Regions from separate parts of the Homo sapiens genome. Here regions 2, 3 and 4 are each linked to region 1. The links are contacts of gene promoters, found by promoter capture Hi-C in blood cells and fetal thymus (Javierre and others, 2016). All regions are on one chromosome and are shown on one strand. The core of a region is centred on a gene start or on the middle of the fragment in contact, and the rest is flanking DNA. Distances in the headings are between cores, read along the strand shown. Region 1 holds the start of MAPK8 (mitogen-activated protein kinase 8). Region 2 has its middle 6.4 kb from the start of NPY4R. Region 3 holds the start of LOC124902419 (a long non-coding RNA gene). Region 4 has its middle 4.1 kb from the start of ERCC6.

The links. Contacts are between HindIII fragments. The CHiCAGO score rates a contact against its expected background, and 5 or more counts as called.
Region 2: a contact is called between a fragment that was not itself captured here and the fragment with the promoter of MAPK8 in region 1, in 5 of 17 cell types (erythroblasts, M1 macrophages, M2 macrophages and 2 more). The highest score is 11.2, in erythroblasts.
Region 3: a contact is called between a fragment that was not itself captured here and the fragment with the promoter of MAPK8 in region 1, in 2 of 17 cell types (M0 macrophages and M1 macrophages). The highest score is 7.3, in M0 macrophages.
Region 4: a contact is called between a fragment that was not itself captured here and the fragment with the promoter of MAPK8 in region 1, in 8 of 17 cell types (total CD4 T cells, naive CD4 T cells, total CD8 T cells and 5 more). The highest score is 11.5, in total CD4 T cells.

The regions. Positions count from the first base shown.
Region 1 is chr10:48,304,326-48,308,639 of GRCh38, reverse strand. MAPK8 (mitogen-activated protein kinase 8) reads right to left here and starts at 1,963. Exons shown (of 12, transcript NM_001323329.2): 1 at 1,819-1,963. RefSeq lists a silencer at 1,383-2,332. The HindIII fragment of the contact is 3,503 bases long and covers 248-3,750 here.
Region 2 is chr10:46,470,239-46,474,552 of GRCh38, reverse strand. It overlaps a transcript of NPY4R not described here. Among named protein-coding and RNA genes, the nearest start is that of NPY4R, 6.4 kb to the right of the region's middle. The HindIII fragment of the contact is 2,742 bases long and covers 851-3,592 here.
Region 3 is chr10:46,535,144-46,539,457 of GRCh38, reverse strand. LOC124902419 (a long non-coding RNA gene) reads right to left here and starts at 2,189. Exons shown (of 2, transcript XR_007062138.1): 1 at 1-2,189. RefSeq lists an enhancer at 3,136-3,637. The HindIII fragment of the contact is 2,757 bases long and covers 453-3,209 here.
Region 4 is chr10:49,541,094-49,545,407 of GRCh38, reverse strand. No RefSeq gene overlaps it. Among named protein-coding and RNA genes, the nearest start is that of ERCC6, 4.1 kb to the right of the region's middle. The HindIII fragment of the contact is 926 bases long and covers 1,297-2,222 here.

The DNA of each region.
Region 1 (4,314 bases), core at 714-3,213:
TACCAGTTTATGAGTGCCTGTGTGTGGATTACGTACATGCACACACACGGACACACATAAACTAGCACATACACAGAAACACACACTCCACAACCTACTTTATTTATCATATTAAAAAAATATTTAGACAAGATTTTATTTTAGGACAGTGAATGACCTACACGTGATTCAAAAGCCCATGTCATCATAACAGATAATGTACATGAACTGACCATTTAGCCATCTGATGCGACAGTTGCATGAAGCTTCCAAAACTTTATGGAGAACATTACGGTTTTTTTTAAGGCTTGATTTTAAATATTATCAATTACAAAGAGCTTTTCATCAATCCGACTTTTATTGAACACTTACTATATTCCAGGCTAGGTGGTGGAGAAACAGATGCAAGACAGGCCTGCCCTCAAGGAAGTCCCATTTTGATTGCTTGCTTTTGTCAGGCACAGCACTAAACATGTTCACTTAGAGCATCTGACCTCCTAGGTTTAACGTTAACCACAGCAGGGGAATCTGAGGTAACCATTACAAATGACTGTAAGGCTGCAAGACTGGAAAAAATAAAATTTAGAAATAAATAAAAGCTGTTGTATATTTAGACCAAATCTAATTCTACTTCCTATTACACTTGAACTTCCAGATATACTGCTTAAAAAATGACCCAGAATATAACCATACCTTCCTTAACAGACATCACTTATGTAACTGTCTCATTTAAAGGTCCATCTATTATACTTCAGTCAAAGCATCCTCTTCCATGAAAGGATACTTTACCTTCACACCAAACCTCTTCATCTGAGTACGGTACTAAACAGCTGCTGAATGAATGAATGAATGAAAAAACAGATGTTCTAATTGCCAAGGAGGTACTTGCTGGATGCTTATCTCAAAACACAATGGACTGACGGACCAGAATTCTACTGGAAAGATCGCTGGATTTCAGAGGTAAAAATAGTAATCACTGGACAATGCCATGTAGTCAACATGTTATTAAATTCGCAGTAAAGACCAAGCAGGGAACTTTCAGAAATAAAAACGGAAAGTGTTCATCAGGGTACTTTAAAATGGACTTGGTTCTACCATCTCTGAATCGGGAACACAAATGCGAGACAAAGAGATGGGAGGGTGGGGTGAAAAAGTCAAAAGGTCACCACCGATGACCCTCAAGAGAAATGCGCGCTGACCACCGAAGCTCGGGCCAAGCTGGATGGACACCTCCCACCCGAGCCACGGGCCTGGGCTCTCTGCCCTGCAGCCCAGAGCTGCAGGCCACTCTGGCCCTTTTCAGCGCTGCTGCCTGCGTTCGCCCAGAACGTTAGCACAAAGAAAGCATCGAGAAGCAAAATACGGTCCCTATGGGCGCGGGGCAGGCTTGGGGACCTGCCGGCAGAAGCGCTCTCCCCGGCTCCCCGCCGCCCCGGAGGCAGCCAGGGCGCGGCGGGCCGCAAAGACACCTCCGTCCGACCCTTGCCGAAGTGTTTCAGAACTTGCCACCCACCCCCCCGCTCCATTTTCTTCTCCCGCCGCGGAGGCAGGACCCACGCGAAGAGGACGCGAGAGGACAGGCGGGCGGGGCTCGCGGCGGCAGGCGGGCTGGCGGGCAGCGGAGCGCACCCAGGTCCCGCAGCCCCACGCCCCCTCGGCTGGCCCCCGCCTCCGCGCCGCTATTGTTCCCGCGCCGCCCCCGCCCACCGCGCGCTCCCGCCCCCACTCCCAGGAGGGGGTTACGGCTGAGGAGAAGGCGGCGGCGGCGGCAGCGGCACAATAACATAAACACGACGGGGCCGCCTGCCGTCCCGGCCCTGCGGCGTCCGCCGCACTCACCCGGCAGCGCAGCGAACGGCGACAGGGAAGCCCGCCAGCGGGGACAGGGGCCGTCCGGGGTGGTCGCCGCGGCCGTTACCCAGCGCTGCTCGCGGCTCCGCAATCCAAGCCGCGTCGTCCGGCCTCGGCCGCTCGGCTGAGTAACAGAGACGCGGGCCGTCACCGCGCACGCCCGCGCACGTCATCGCGCAGGGCCCCGCCCCCGCGCCTCCCGAGCGGCCGGCGGGGCGGGGCAGCCCCGGGGCCCGGATTGCGGGGGCGGGGCCGCCGCCCGGGGACGGCGCTACTCCAGGGGTTACGAGAGGACTTGCGGAGGTCGCTTGGAGGCGGAGCCGCGGAGAGAGCCTCCGAGGGCTGTGGGTGAGGGGCGTGGCCTGGAGCGGGAGGGGCGGGCCCTGTGGCGGCACGTGGCGGCGCGTGGCCCCAGGGGACCGCATCTGGTTGGCGGCGGTAGCCAGGTCAGAGCTTAAGCCTTCGGGCCTCGTCGGCACAGGGTTGAAGGGCAGGTGCGCTTAGGCCTAACCTGCGCAGCGAACAGGCACCCCCTTCCGGTACACACACCTGAGTGATGAAGAGCTGGTTACCTTGACCGACAATATGTTCCATTCTGAGGACACCTGTCCGGGTCCCAGAAACCTACAGAGAGATAAGTGTTCTCTTCAGCTGCCCGGGAAAAGCTGCCTCCAGTTTTTCCAAAATCCACCTCCTCCGAGATTCCTTGCAAATCCACCTCTTCCCAGATTCCTTGCATTACCTGGTTTACTTCTGAGGCCCCACAAAGCGTGTAAATGTTACAGAAGCGATAAATTGACAAGTCCTTTAAATATCCAACAACGGGTGGAAAGGCGTTTGAACTACCTACACCATTCGGTAGAATACATTTTAGCAATTTAAATGCCATGTGTTCAAGGAATTCTTAACAACATAGGAACATGTTCACAATGTATCATTAAGAGAAAGAAGCAAGAAACAAGTCATATATAGAATGGTCCCACTTAGATACTATATATACACATAGAAAAAACCTGGAAAGAAATACACCAAATTATGTTAACAATGGTTCATCATTGGACTATGGAATAAAGGGTGACTTGGTTCTCGTTTATACTTTGGGTATTTTCTCATGTTTTCCGAGAGGAATAGTTATGTTCACAATCAGAAACAAGTAAGTTACTTTAATAATGAATATATAAATATTTGTTGAATAAATGAATGATTTCAGGTAAACTACTTTCCTATTACATGTGGGGCTGGCCTGTTTCTGGTGATTCTGAAAGGGAACATACAGATGATTATTCATTCATTCTCTTCCCATTTCCTCTCTCCCTCCCTCTCAACCTTCTTAATTTCCTTCCTGCCATCCTTTGTTCCTGCAATAATTATTTATTGCATGCCCATTCAGTGCCAGGCAATACAGTAGAGTTTACAGATTTAATCACTGTACTATGAAAGTAATAATAGTAAACGCAAAATTATCACTGTTTTATAATACAAATTGTTAAGGATACATAATACTATGAAACCAATTAATACACTAGTTAATAAGGCCAGAAAAGATTTCCCTGAGGAACTGTCACTTGAGCTGGGAATAGGTTTGACTAGACAGAGAATATTTTAGAGGTAGCTTTGCACGCAAAGGTCCTCTGATGAGATTAAGCAGGATAAGATGGAGAAATTCAGGAAAGGCCAGCTCTGCTGGAGGAGCAAGGAAGAAGGAGCTATGAGATGAAGTCAGGAAGATTGGTAAAGGGACCAAACGTAGGACATCCATATTGGCCATGTTGAAAATCTTTTTATCCTAAGTGCAATGGGAAGCCCCTGACATATTCAGCAAAGGGTGTGGCATGGTCAGAATAGCTTCTTGAAAAGATTCCTTATTGGAAAGAGCCCAGGTGGATGTAGGAGTAGCCTAGACGGTAAGAGGTGGAAGCTTGATCTAGGGTGATGGTCATGGAAATAGTTGATGGACATGGAAAGATCTGTGAATTATTTAGGAGGTCCAACGGGCAGAACTTGCACATTCTCCAAGTGATGGGTTATGTGGGGCAATGAAGGAGAGGGAGTCATCAAGGAAAACTCAAAGGTTTCTGGCTTGTGGCCAAGGATGGATGTTAGTGCTGGTTTACCAAGATGGGAATCTTGGAAAAGGACCAGACTGGCATTAAAATATCATGAGAGCAGGCTGTTTGGCTGTTTGAAGGCTTTTGAGATGCCCAAAACTGATGTTAAGTTGGTGGTTGGATATACAGAGCTGAGGTTCAGCTAGTTAAGAGACGAATCATTGACAGTGAGTGATTCCTTGAAGCCTTGGGATAGATGGGTCAGCCTAGGCCTGAGGAGAGGGCCTGCAACCAGGCTTGGGGAACTTCAGTGTTAAAGGGCCACAAAGGGGAAGATGAGTCTGTGATGAGCTGCCAGGGAGATAGAAGGATAACCAGGAGAGAGGTGTTCAAGAAGAAAGGGCTGATCAATAATATTAAACATAAGAGGAGGCTT
Region 2 (4,314 bases), core at 972-3,471, 1.8 Mb after region 1:
TAGTTCCAGAAGGCAGGGAGAAGGATTGGGAGAGTCGACACAAAGTGTGCAGCCAGGGCTGCGTTGGTATTTTTCCTCTGATGTGCTCCACAGAAGGGCAGCTGACCCACTGTGGGTTGATAATTTCACTGGTTCACAGAAGACAGGGAATATAGGACTTTAGGGAAATAATGTGCCTTTGTCTTTGTCTTTCTCTTATTCTCTATCAAGGGGGAAAATGCTGCTCTGGGCTGGTTGGATTCAAGCTCATGGATTGGACCATGGGATAAAGTTTTAGTGGCAGATGGCTACTTCCTTGAAATAGAGTGGAGAAAAAGGGTGGCAGCATTGGTGAGAAGGGACAGGCAGGAGGCAGTAGGGAAGTCCAGCTTTACTCTGGAGAGAAGAAGAGGTGGGGGTGGGGAGGGCAGGGCCAGCTGTTTGGGGTGGGAGGCAGGGAAGGTGTTGGCTGCCCAGTTGACATCTCTTATCTCTTTCCTGGGGCCAGAGTAGGTTATTTTACAGCCCAGCCTCTTTATGGCCTCAGCAGAGAAGCAAAGGCAAACAAAGAACAGGTGATCCCTCAGGGCCCAAGGAGACGCCTCCTACAGCAGGTGTGCCCACTTCAGCAGCCCTGCTGGCCAGAATCTCTACTTAGAAGGCTTCTGGGAAGGCCAGGCCCTTATCGGCTTCCGACTTTGAAGTCCTAGGAACCCTCCCTCACACCTCCCTTCTATGTGGCTTTGAAAATACTTTGATATTCTATCCCTATCCCTTAATTATTTGAACCCTCACCAGTTTGTAATGAGCCTGAACCCATCTTTGCTCCATTTTACATATGACAAAACTGAGGCTGGAAGCGTTGTTGCCAAGCTTCTTTGCCCTTTGTACCATGGGATTTAATTACATATATTTTATGGATTCTTTCCTTTATAAAGTTGTAATCATTCATTCTTTTTTAATAGAGAGAAATTTAGAAAAGGAAACAAAGCAAAAAATGACCTAAAATCCTATGGGTCAGATAACTCCCGTTGATATTCTTTCCTTCTTTCCCCCAGTTCTATTTCCAGAGGTTACCACTTTCAATTTTTATTTCTGTTTCATTCTATAAAGATGAAGAAAATTTTTGACACCTTTAAAAATATAATTTAAATCATCTTAAACTTATAGAAAAGTTGAAAGTGAGGATAAAGAACATTAATTTTTCTATGCCATTTGAAAGCATGATCCCGGCAATTTGCATGAACACCTTGCTACCGCCTCATCTGCAGGCTCCACTAAAGTTTCATCAGCTGTCCCAAGATACACAGGTTTCATTCTCCTGTCTCTGGTCTCCTTCAATCTGGAATGGTTCTCCCTTCTTTCCTTGACTTCCATGGCCTTATGTTTCCAGATGACAGGCCAGTTATTCTGTAGTATGTCCCTCACCTGGGTTGAGGCTGATGCTTCTTCAGGGTTGGATTCACTTGCATGCACCTTCAGCAGGAAGATCACAGAAGCTGTGCTGCGTTTTCCTTGCATCCTGTCATGCGGTGAGTAATTTCACTCTAGGATTAGAGATGGTGTTCGCTATGATCATTTGATTACAGAGGTGACTGCCAGCCTTCTCCACTGTAAGGTGACTCTTCTCTTTGTAATAAACAAATATTTTGTGATGAGGCACACTGAAACCATGAATATATTCCATTCCTCATCAAACTGTCACTTTACTCCATCATTTAGTTATATTGAAATGGACTCAGATTTTTATTTTATTCAGTAGGTTATTATCCATCATCATTATTATTTACTTTGATGCTCACATGGTCGAAGATTTGGCCATCAAGGGCCCCTTCAAGCCAGGTTCTGGGCTTTTCTGGCCTGCACCCTTCATTCTTAGAGTACTTCATTACTTTCTAGCTCCCAAGATCTTTCAGGTTTATCTTGGGCTTTCCCAGCCCTTGCCCTGGAATCAGCCATTTTCCGAAGGAGACTTGGATTCTTTTAATGGAGAATGGCATTTAGAAGTCAATATATGGGTGCTAGGAGTGTTCATTGCTATTGGGGTATCACTGCTCCTAGACTCTCTCAGTGGACAGAGCAAGGATATATATGCACACACACTATTAGATCAATATTTATCTCTCTATATAGAAAACCATGAGCTCACTTCAATACTTTCAATTCTAATCAAAACCACAGGGCTTATTCTGGGTTTCCCTCCTTCCATATTCATGACTGCCTTCTCCATGAGTGAGAAAACTGGCTCCCAACTTTGCTCAGTTGGTCCCCCTGCATATACCCAATCTTCCATAGCAGAACTCTGCCCCTCCACTCATTCTGTGTGGCTCTGACATCCACACTTGGTTGTCCCCTTCTGCCATGTGGACTTTCATTTGACAGTACTTGGACTCTAACACCCTGTGCTAGGCCACCGTGCCCCTGCCTCCCTGCATGGCCACTCTTTGTCCTATTCTGGCTCTGACATGCCATGCCAGGCTCCCCCACGCCAGATGGGTGCCATCTGGTACATATCCCGTGTGCTTAGCTTAGACTACCCGGGCTATGATGGCTACTGTCCCACCCATGCCCATGTGCTGCATGCATCTTATGAAGGCATCTGGTTTATTCTCCCTGCTCATCAGTTCAATCAGCATGTGCTACCAGTGTAGTGCACCAGCATACCATCTGTGGATCTGTGGGATGTTCAGAAGATCAAGGTCTCTGTAGACCACACTATAACAGAAAGCTGGAAAACGAACATGATCTGGGAGAAGACACTGACTTTGTACTTCTATCCTTGCCAGGTGAAAGCAAACTTCTGCTGGTTCTTACCGATACAGATGGGGAGAAAACACAAGCTGAGTCAATAGCTACATACTAAGTGCTGAGAGTGGTTAAGTTGTTCTATGTTGCATTTAGAAAAGCAGCTAAAATTGGAGTTACTGCCTGATTAAATTTACGACGACATACAGTCATTCTCCAAGATTCAGCAACTTCCTGCACAGGCTAAAGAGCTAAAGAGGTGAGCCAAGTGGGCAGAAATGTGACAGGCCTCCCTGTCCCTGCATCTTTCATGTCTTTAATCATGGCATCGATCCCTGTAATTCCCCTAGAAATACAGTAATGCAGGTTTACTATTTGCGTAGGGAAAGAAAATCCCAGGCTCCTGGGCCTGTTCAACCATTTCTTTGACCTCATCTCTCCTTGCTTGATTTTATACCAGTTGTGCTGGAGTACCTTCTAATATGGTTTGGCTCTGTGTCCCCACCCAAATCTCATCTCTAATTGTCATCTCCACATGCCGAGGGAGGTACCTGGTGGGAGGTAATCGGATTATGGGGGCAGTTTACCTCATGCTGTTCTCATGATGGTAAGTTTCCACGAGATCTGATGGTTTAAAAGTGTTTGGGAGTCCCTAGCCTCTCTCCTGCCGCCATGTAAGATGTACCTTGCTTCCCCCTCTGCCATGGTTGTAAGTTTTCTGAGGCCTCCCCAGCCATGTGGAACTGCGAGTCAATTAAAGCTGTTTTGTTTATAAATCACCCAGTCTTAGGTAGTTCTTTATAGCAGTGTGAAAATGGACTAATACACTTCCTTAATGAACTCTCTCAGAAAGGATTCAGGAAATGTAAGCTTGCAAGTTTAGAAATATCCTTATTCTACCTTTACACTTGATATTATCGCTGAGATGAGCGTTTTAGGTTCAAAATATATTTCCAGGAGTCCTAAAAATATAGCTCCATCTTTTCAGAGTCTTCCATCATCCTATGTTGTTGACAAGACTGAGAATGGTCTCTGTCTCTCCTTTCCTTTGTAGGCAACCTTTCTCTTCCTGCTCCCACCCATGGAACATTTTAGAATCTTTTTTTTTTTTTTTTTTTTTTTTTTTTTTTGGTGTTTTGAAATTTTGCAGTACCTGTCTAGGTGTGGAGCAGTTCCTCGGGCTTCCTTTTAATCTGTAGCTCTGGAATACTCTTGCTATTGATGATTCTATGTGTCGACTATTTTGCTCACACCCCACCCAGATGCATTCTCTACTGTGGTTCTCTGCTCTTCCCTGTGCCAGGGGAAGCTGATGGCTCCTTTGCTGGCAGGGCTCCAGTTGGGTTTGGTCAATGGGAGGGACTGACAGGAGACTGGAAGTGGAAGGAGAGAGAGGTTGGTAGAATTCTTTTCTACTTCCCCTTGCTTCCATGCTGTCTGGAGGCGGTGGCATGCCTCCACACTACAGAAGCTCCCACTGGGGGCCCTTCCTCTGCAGTCCTCTGGCTGTGGTAATGTGGTTTTCTCCTTTTGTTCTTTTAACTGTAGGGTGGTGATTGCTTCTGTCTTCTGCCAGTCTCTGGGTGCCTC
Region 3 (4,314 bases), core at 582-3,081, 1.8 Mb after region 1:
TTAATAGATTTATTTCTTAGATGAGATTTAATTAAGAGAAAAAGTATGCAGAAAATACAGAGTTCCCCTACACTTTCTCACTCTCATACACTTTCTCCTATTATGAGCTTGCATAGTGTACAACATGGTACATTTGTTACAATTAATGCACCAATATTGATGCATTACTGTTTCCTAAAGTTCATGGTTTAAAGTTTACTCTTTGTGTTGGACACTTCTCTGGATTTTGAAAATCCATGTGGTGTATCTCCCACTCCAGTAGCATACAGAATAGTTGGACCACCTAAAAATCCCCTGTGCTCCGTCCATTCACCCCTCTTACCTTCCCCAGGACTCCTGGCAACCACTGATCTTTTTACTGTCTCTATAGTTTTCCTGAATGTCACAGAGTTGGCTTCATGTAGCATGTAGCCTTTTCAGACAGGCTTCTTTCACCTAGCAATATGGATTTAAGCTTCCTCCATGTATTTTCATAGCTTGAGAACTCATTTCTTTTTAGTGCTGAAAAATGTTCTGTTGTCTGGGCATACTGCCATTTATTCATCTACCAAAGGGCATCTTGGTTGCTTTCAGGTTTTGACTATTATGAATAAAACTACTATAAATATTCATGTGCAGGTTTTGATGTGGACATATGTTTACTTCAGTTGGTTAAATACGCAGGGCAACATTGCTGTAAGACTATGTTTAGCTTCATAAGAAACTGCCAAACTATCTCTGTACAATTTCGTATTCCTACTAGCAATGAATGAGAGTTCCTTTTTCTCATATAAAAATAAATATCCTTGTATGTATAGTTTTATGTTCAGGTGTGAGTATATCTGTAGGATAAATTTTTCATCAAGTGGTACATGTAAAATATCTACCGGTATTGGCAAATTGCTCCCCAGAAAGATTGCACCAATAATACATGAAAACGCATATTTTCTCATACCCACGCCAATATTTGATTGTTAATCGAACTTTAATATTTTGGCTAATTTGATAAGTGAAGGAACAATGTCTTCCTAGTTATTGTGATTTGCAATCTGTTCCCTGTGAGTGAGGTTGTGGTCTGCCGGACTGCGTGAGTGAGAATTCCTGTTCTGGCACTCTCAAGCTGTGTGATGCTGGGAAAGTTGCTGAACCTCCCTGGACCTCAGTTTCTTCATCTATAGAATGAGGATGGTAATGGGTCTTTACCTTATTAATTGGATTGGAGGATTTAATGGCATCATTCATGTAAAGTGCCAGCACAGTTCCTGGCTCAAAATAAGGGCCAAGTAAATGTAAGCTATTATTATTCTCCAATATGTTCATAAGCACTTGAATTTCTTCATTTCTGATCTGCCTATGTTCATATCAATTTCCCAGGATTTTTTCTTATTGATTGGTTAGAGCTCTTTGTATATTAATAACATACGTTTATTTTTTTCATATAAGTTACAAGTATTTTTTTATTCCAGTGTTTCATTTGTCTCCTGTTTATCAGATCCTGGCTCCAAACCAGTGCAACATCCTTCTCAGGGACACAGCATTTTAAATCTTACAAAGCCCCTCATTTCCCATCTGTCATTTATGTCTCAGGACATCCACATGAGGCAAGCTGATGTATTTTTCAGTAAAGAAGGAGACTTTATTGACCAGGCAGGGCGAGTGACTTGCCTAAGGGCACAGAAGGAATTAGTGGTTTGTACAGACTGAAATGGAGGGTCCTGGCCCCTAGGTACCACCTCCTCCACTCTTAAAGAAGGGGAGAGGGAATCTGGAGGTGCAGGAAGGAAAAGGTCAAGGTCATCATGACAGACAGCCTCACCCCATCCCCTCTCAGAACCCAAGAGCCTGGGTCCTTTTTTTTCTGTTAAGTTCTGACCATTCTCTCCTGATAAATCAAGGGAAGAATGCGAGTAAAGGGTATGTGTTACTCGGGCGAGACTCCCTGCTTGGAAGGTCTAGGAGGGGAGGTATGTGTGTGAGTGTGTGTGTGTGTGTGTGTGTGTGTGTGTGCATTCTTTCTGTCAAGTTGCCCAGCAGGTGAGCTGAAAGCTGGCTCTCTTAACTTGGGGATGAGCAATAGAGTCAGGTCTCGGTTCGTCATTTTCCAATTTCATCAGCTTTGAAAATATTTTAATAATAAAATCCAAGCATTTGATTTTCCTGACTAGTTGTTTATTCTGATTTATTGGCTATGCATGGTGCCTGAAGCTCCTCCAAACTCCCAAGGGTATCCCTGCATGTCTCAGGATGTCTCTTAACCCAGTGCCATGTGAGGGACAGAACCTAGACCAGGCATTCAGAGCCAGGTACCATTGTGCCTACCCTACTCACTGCTAGATGATGCTAGTGAGGTGCTCACACCTCTCTGGGCTTAGTCCCTCCATTGTAAGGCAAATGGGAGGCCTGCTGCCTCTGCCTTGCTGGGTTGTTGGTATGGCTGAAATGAGGGGATGAAGGTGATGTGGAAAACTTGATAGGAGAGTGGCTGCCGTGTGTCCATTCTGGTCTCCTTTGTCTCATGTCAAGCCCAGGGACTGGTTCTTTTTCTCTCTTCGGGTCTGTGACTTCTGGGAATCCTGCTTGCCTCGGTGCCCCCTGGTGAGGTGGTGCCATATAGGTTGCTTTAGCACATCACCGAGAGGGACTCTCCAAACCCTATGCTAAGTGTTCACCGCCAGAACACTTGCATTTGGGCCAGACCGGGCTAGGGTACCTAACCATAGCTTCCTGGGTTCATTTCACAGGGTGGACAGCAACTGAGAGATGTCCAGGGAAATTTCCCTTTTTAAGAGATAGGGGTTCTGGGGCCCATAAGGGCAGGAAGTATCCCCAACCACAGGCAAGTTCATGAAGCCCATAGGGAGTAGGATGGAGCCAGTTGCCAGGAGCAGGGAAAGGTTCATGTCTTTGCTCCTCCATGTACCCAGGGACTCAGCACCACCTGCAAGTTGATGGAAAGGCAGAATCTCAGCACACTCTGAGCCCCCGAATCAGAGTCTGCATTTTAACAGAACCCCTAGGTGAGGCAGAAGCCCACTACTCCAGTATCATTCATTCATTCACTCACCTAGCAAACATGCCTGAGGCCGACTCTGTGCCGTGCCCTGTGCTGACGAAGACCGGCCAAAAGACCTTGTTCTGGTCTTCCTGAAGCTCAGGTGGAGCAGACACCCCAACGGCCAACAAATGTGAAGATTGAGAACTGTGATGGGAGCCTGAGGTGGGAGCAGCTAAGCTTCCCTGGGGAATTGGGGGTCAGGGAAGTAGTCCCAAGAGGCTGAGTACCTCCTGTGTGGCAGGGGCAGGGTGGCCTTTGCTCCCTAGTATCTTTTTTTTTTTTGAGATGGAGTCTCACTCTGTTGCCCAGGCTGGAGTGTAGTGGCGCTACCTTGGCTCACTGCAACCTCCGCCTCCCAGGTTCAAGTGATTATTCTGCCTCAGCCTCCCAAGTAGCTGAGATTACAGGTGCCCGCCACCATGCGTGGCTAATTTTTGTATTTTTGCTAGAGACGGAGTTTCGCCACATTGGCCAGGCTGGTCTTGAACTCCTAACCTCAGGTGATCCACCCACCTTGTCCTCCCAAAGTGTTGGGATTACAGGCTTGAGTGACTGCGCCCGGCCTGTGCTCCAGTATCAAAACCTGCAAGCACCTACAGAGTGGAGGGTGCTATGGTCAGGGTGGTGCTCAGGTCCAGACTGATGGAGGAACCTGAGCAGGGGCGGGGAGGCATTTCAGGAAGAGGGAGCAGTTGCTCCTGCACAATTTTGTTGCATCGGGCCAAGCAGGAAGGCTGGAGAGGTGAGGAAGAGCCCCGGGGGAAAGCATGGACCATCAGGGAAAAGTCAGACATTGCCCTGTTGCTAAAGGCACTCCTGGATGGGTTTTAGCCCGGGGAGACCTGAATCAAATTAGGGTGCATAGAAAGACCATGATATCCCCTTGATGGGGAGGAGAAAGAGGAGAAACAGGAGGACTAGGAGGGAAAGCCGAGGCGATTTGACTCAGCATGAGTGAGATGTGGGGCAGGGAGAGAGAGAGAGAGAAAGACACAAAGAGAGAGACAAGGAGAGACAAAGGGGAGAGAGAGAGGAGAGAGAGAGAGAGAACAGAGAGACAGAGGAGAGAAAGAGACAGAGGAGAGAGAGAGGGGAACAGAAGAAAGAGAGGCAGAGAGACAGTGAAGAGAGAGAAAGAGAGAGAGATTGAGAAAGAAACTTTGCATCCGCAGGCCTGGGCCCCATGCAGCACTGACAGTGGTAGGCAGCCGACGTGAAGCAGGAGGCACAGGCAGGGAGGATGGACACAGCACCTCCCACAGCTTCTGAGTCCTTGGTGC
Region 4 (4,314 bases), core at 510-3,009, 1.2 Mb before region 1:
TCAAAAGGTGGTTTATAATCAACTATACGACTTTGACAGGTGCTCTTAAATGCAGGTTTCTGAATAACTTAGGAGATTGTGACATTAGAATAGAGGAAAAAACATTTAGGACTCTCATGGAGAGCTGAAATATTCATGACTATCAAGCAGAACAGGAGTCAACTGCATGGAGTAAACTAATAGAAGCCTGAAGTAATCTTTTTGACTTTTTTTCTTAAAGTGTTGCTGATCCTTTGTTTTGTTTTTCACAGTCAAGAAAACTTTTATTTACAACTTGTAGCAGCTGAGTATGCCTATAAACAAAATTTGAAGCATATTTCTCTCTACCTGATTTCTCCAGAATTTGGAAACTATTTGTGAGTATTCTTATGGCAATATAGTTATTTACATAAGTGCAGTAAGAATCTGTTTTCTTTTACAACAGGACACAGTTGGAGGAACTGATTATTTTACCAAGCCTTTGACTGGAATGGCATGCTTTCAAATATAAACAAACTGCTTCAAGGAATCAAACTTGACTTATAGAGACAATAAAAGCCCCTTGGGAAAACTGGCCTCATACCTTGTCTACACAGTCCTTGTACAGGGTTCTTGGTCTGTAATAAGTAAAGAATGCAACTTTCTGAGAGGCCCAGGAGCACCAATATCTTGGGACCTCAGGAGGAGAGGAATTTACCCAACTTACAGGTATTTGATGGCAGCAACCCATGGCTGGGCTCAGTTTTAAAAAAAGTCTTATTTAAAATTCCTTATAGAACAAAGATCCATCAAATCCAATTACAAAAAAAAAACCCATGTGAAAAATAATTATTCTTGCTGCCCTTTTTACGAAGAATCAGGCCAAGTATAAAACTAAATTTATTTAGTTGGAAGCAAATCAGTCTTACCATGATTTGTCTTTAATAAAAGTGGGAGCCTGAAGAGAGAAAAAAGTTATGTTTCAACTATGGTACACCTGTTATTAGATTCTAGTCTCATCAGTTATTTTTAAGGGTTTTTTCTTCCTTGCAATTTAGACTAACCCTACTTTTTCCTGCCAACTAACCAGTGATCTCTGGCTGCTGCTCAGAAAAAAAATAACAGAAATGGGTAATGTAAAAATCTGGATCAATATTCTAATTCTAATTGGAACATATAGCATGTACAGCAACTTCATATCAGCTTGCCCAGTTCCAGCTGTTGCCGAGTTCATGGAAAGCCTTCTAATTTAGTTTACTTGGGATAGTTTTACTTATTTTGCTTTACCGTTGTGGAACATATTGCTGTTGTACTCCGTGTGGGAGTGCAGGATAAGCTTACTCAATGTTTAATTAAATTGAATACTTTTTAATCTTCCAGATATCACCTTTTGCCCTCAAGAGTTATGAATGTCCCTCACCATAGTGATGCCTTCTGACTGAGCTCCTCACTACCCTGAATACAAGAGACCATAATAGTTAGGTAGGAGTAGCATAGCCCTTATTCAGCTTGAAGAAGTTACAGAAGATGGATCTTTGTCCCTCTACTACCCTTTGGATTAGGCGTTCCCTTGTAAAAGGGAAGGGAGAAATATGTCAGAGGCATTTGAACCAGAGTGATTCCATCTTGAATTGGGGCTGGGTGAAATAAGGCTGAGACCTACTGAGCTGTATTCCCAAGAGGGCAGGCATTCTAAGTCACAGGATGAGGTAGGAGGTTGGCACAAGATACAGGTGACAAAGACCTTGCTGATTAAACAGTTTGCGGTAAAGAAGCTGGCCAAAACCCACGAAAACCAAGATGGCAATGAAAGTGATGTCTGGTCATCCTCACTCTTCCTTATATGCTAATTATAATGCATTAGCATGCTAAGAGACACTCCTATCAGCACATGACAGCTTACAAATGCCATGGCAATATCAGAAAGTTACCCTATATGGTTTAAAAATGGGAAGAACCCTCAGTTCTGGGAATTACCCACCCCTTTCCTAGAAAACTCAGGAATAATCTACCCCTTCTTTAGCATATAATCAAGAAATAACTATAAGTATTCTCATCAAGCAGCCCAAGTTGCTGTTCTGCCTATGGAGTAGCCATTCTTTATTCCTTTACTCTCCTAATAAACTTGCTTTCACTTTACTCTATGGACTTGCCCCGAATTCTTTCTTACTCAAGGTCTAAGAACTCTCTCGGCATCTGGATCGGGAATCCTTCCTGGTAACAGTTCACAATGGATGGTTTTATACATTCATTGCTTTTAAGCTTGCTGATTCATTTATTCAACATACATTTAACATGTTTTTCTAGTGGTTGCCAACACAGTTCTAAATAATATGCTTTTGCTTCTTTTTTGATTTATAATTTTTACAAAGTATTTATTGTGTTTCCAATACATCTAATTATTTTTCATGAGTTTTCCCCATTTATAAGGATCAGAGAACCAAACCGGTTTTGTTGCACTGCCGTTACCCAGAAGTTTTGAAAAGTGAGAGTCAACTCAGACCTCTGTTCTGTAGGTCATTGGGAGAATTCCTTATATTGAACACGAAATGTGAAATAAAGGCGCAAGGATGAATATCGTCATAGTTAAACAAGTTAACATTAGTAAAGCACTCAAGACAATGAAACCACCTTTGCAAAAATTATATCAGTTAGAAAATTATGACAGTGAAAGAGGTCTGAGTTAACGCCCCCATTCCAACACCTATCTTGCCTTTCCCTTAATTATTTCTAAGCTACTGGGGCCAGCTAACTTTGAGAGACATTTAGGCTATAGTTTACATGATAACAGACCTTGCCTGAAACTCAACTGTTTTTGTAAAGCTAATGGGAAGCTATCAGGCTGTGGGGGAGGAGAGGAGCCTGAGTCCTGCTAAGGCGCAGATATGAACGATTGTCAGTCATTATTCTGGAGGTTATAAGATACTCAACTTTCCCAATTACTCCTGCAAATAACACCACTGATATGGTTTGGCTGTGTCCCCACCCAAATCTCATCCTGAATTGTAGTTTCCATAATCCCTACATGTTGTGGGAGGAAGCCGGTGGGAGATAACTGAATCGTGAGGGTGGTTACCTCCATGCTGTTCTGATAGTGAGTTCTCACGAGATCTGATGGTTTTATAAGGGGCTTTCCCCCTCCTTCACTCTGCACTTCTCCTTGCTGCCACCATGTGAAGTAGGACATGTTTGCTCCCCCTGTCACCATGATTGTAAGTTTCCAGAGGCCTCCCCAGCCATGCTTAACTGTGAGTCAATTAAACCTCTTTCCTTTATAAATTACCCAGTCTTGGGTATGTCTTTATTAGCAGCACGAGAGCAGACTAATACAACCACTATTTGTAGCTTTTTGAGATATCTTTCCAGGTTTTTTGCATGTCTGACACCCATGGCTCCACCTGGACCGCCAACCCCACTCCCACAGCCCCACCCAGAAGTGATTCAGACTGCAGGAGGACAGCTTTGACTCCCCCTATGATTTCATCTCAGCCTCAACCAATCAGCAGCAAGCACCTGTTACCTGGCCACTCCCACCCCTTCCTCCAAACTGCGTTTGAAAAACCCCCAGCCTATGAGCTTCGGACTTTGGATCAGATGACCTGAGCATGCACTCCATCTCCCACCTGGCATGGTCGGCCTCGTGTCTATTAAGCTCTTTTTCTACCACAATGCTATGGTCTTTCTTTATGCAGTGGGCAGGAAGAACCCCTTGGGTGGGGTGTTTAAAATAATGCCCAGCTTAGAGTAAGGGCTAGGAAATGGTAGGGAAAATGGATTAAAATCCAAATCAATAACTACTATAATAATGACATTAGAAATATTGGTTTGGGGGTACACAGGAGATGCAAGAGCCTATTGCTGTCAGAGGGTAGGGGAAAGCTTCAGAAAAGAGAAACTTTGTCTGAGTTTGGAATGGGTAAGAGAATTCTAAGCAGAGGGACCTGCTTGTAAGATCACAGAAGTGACAGAATAACAAGTAGGGGTATGTGGGAAAAGATTAATAATTGCCTCTCCCCCAAAGTTCCAGTTTATAGTTTGTCCATTTCTGTGGTATAAATACTCCTACTATGGCTGATTTCAAGCTATTAATGTGAAGTCAACAAAGGCAGAGTTGGTGCTATGGGCTAAACTGGGTGCCCCCCAAATTCATATGCTGAATCCCTAACCCTCAATGTGACTATTTGGAGACAGGGTCTTTAGGCAGCAAATCTGGTTAAATGAGATCATAAGGGTGAGTCCCTAATCCAATACGGCTGATGCCTTAGAAGAAAGGGAAGACAGAGCCCTCTCTCTACCCCATGTAAGGACACAGTGAGAAGGTAACCATTTGCAAGCCATGAGGAGAGCTTCCCCTAA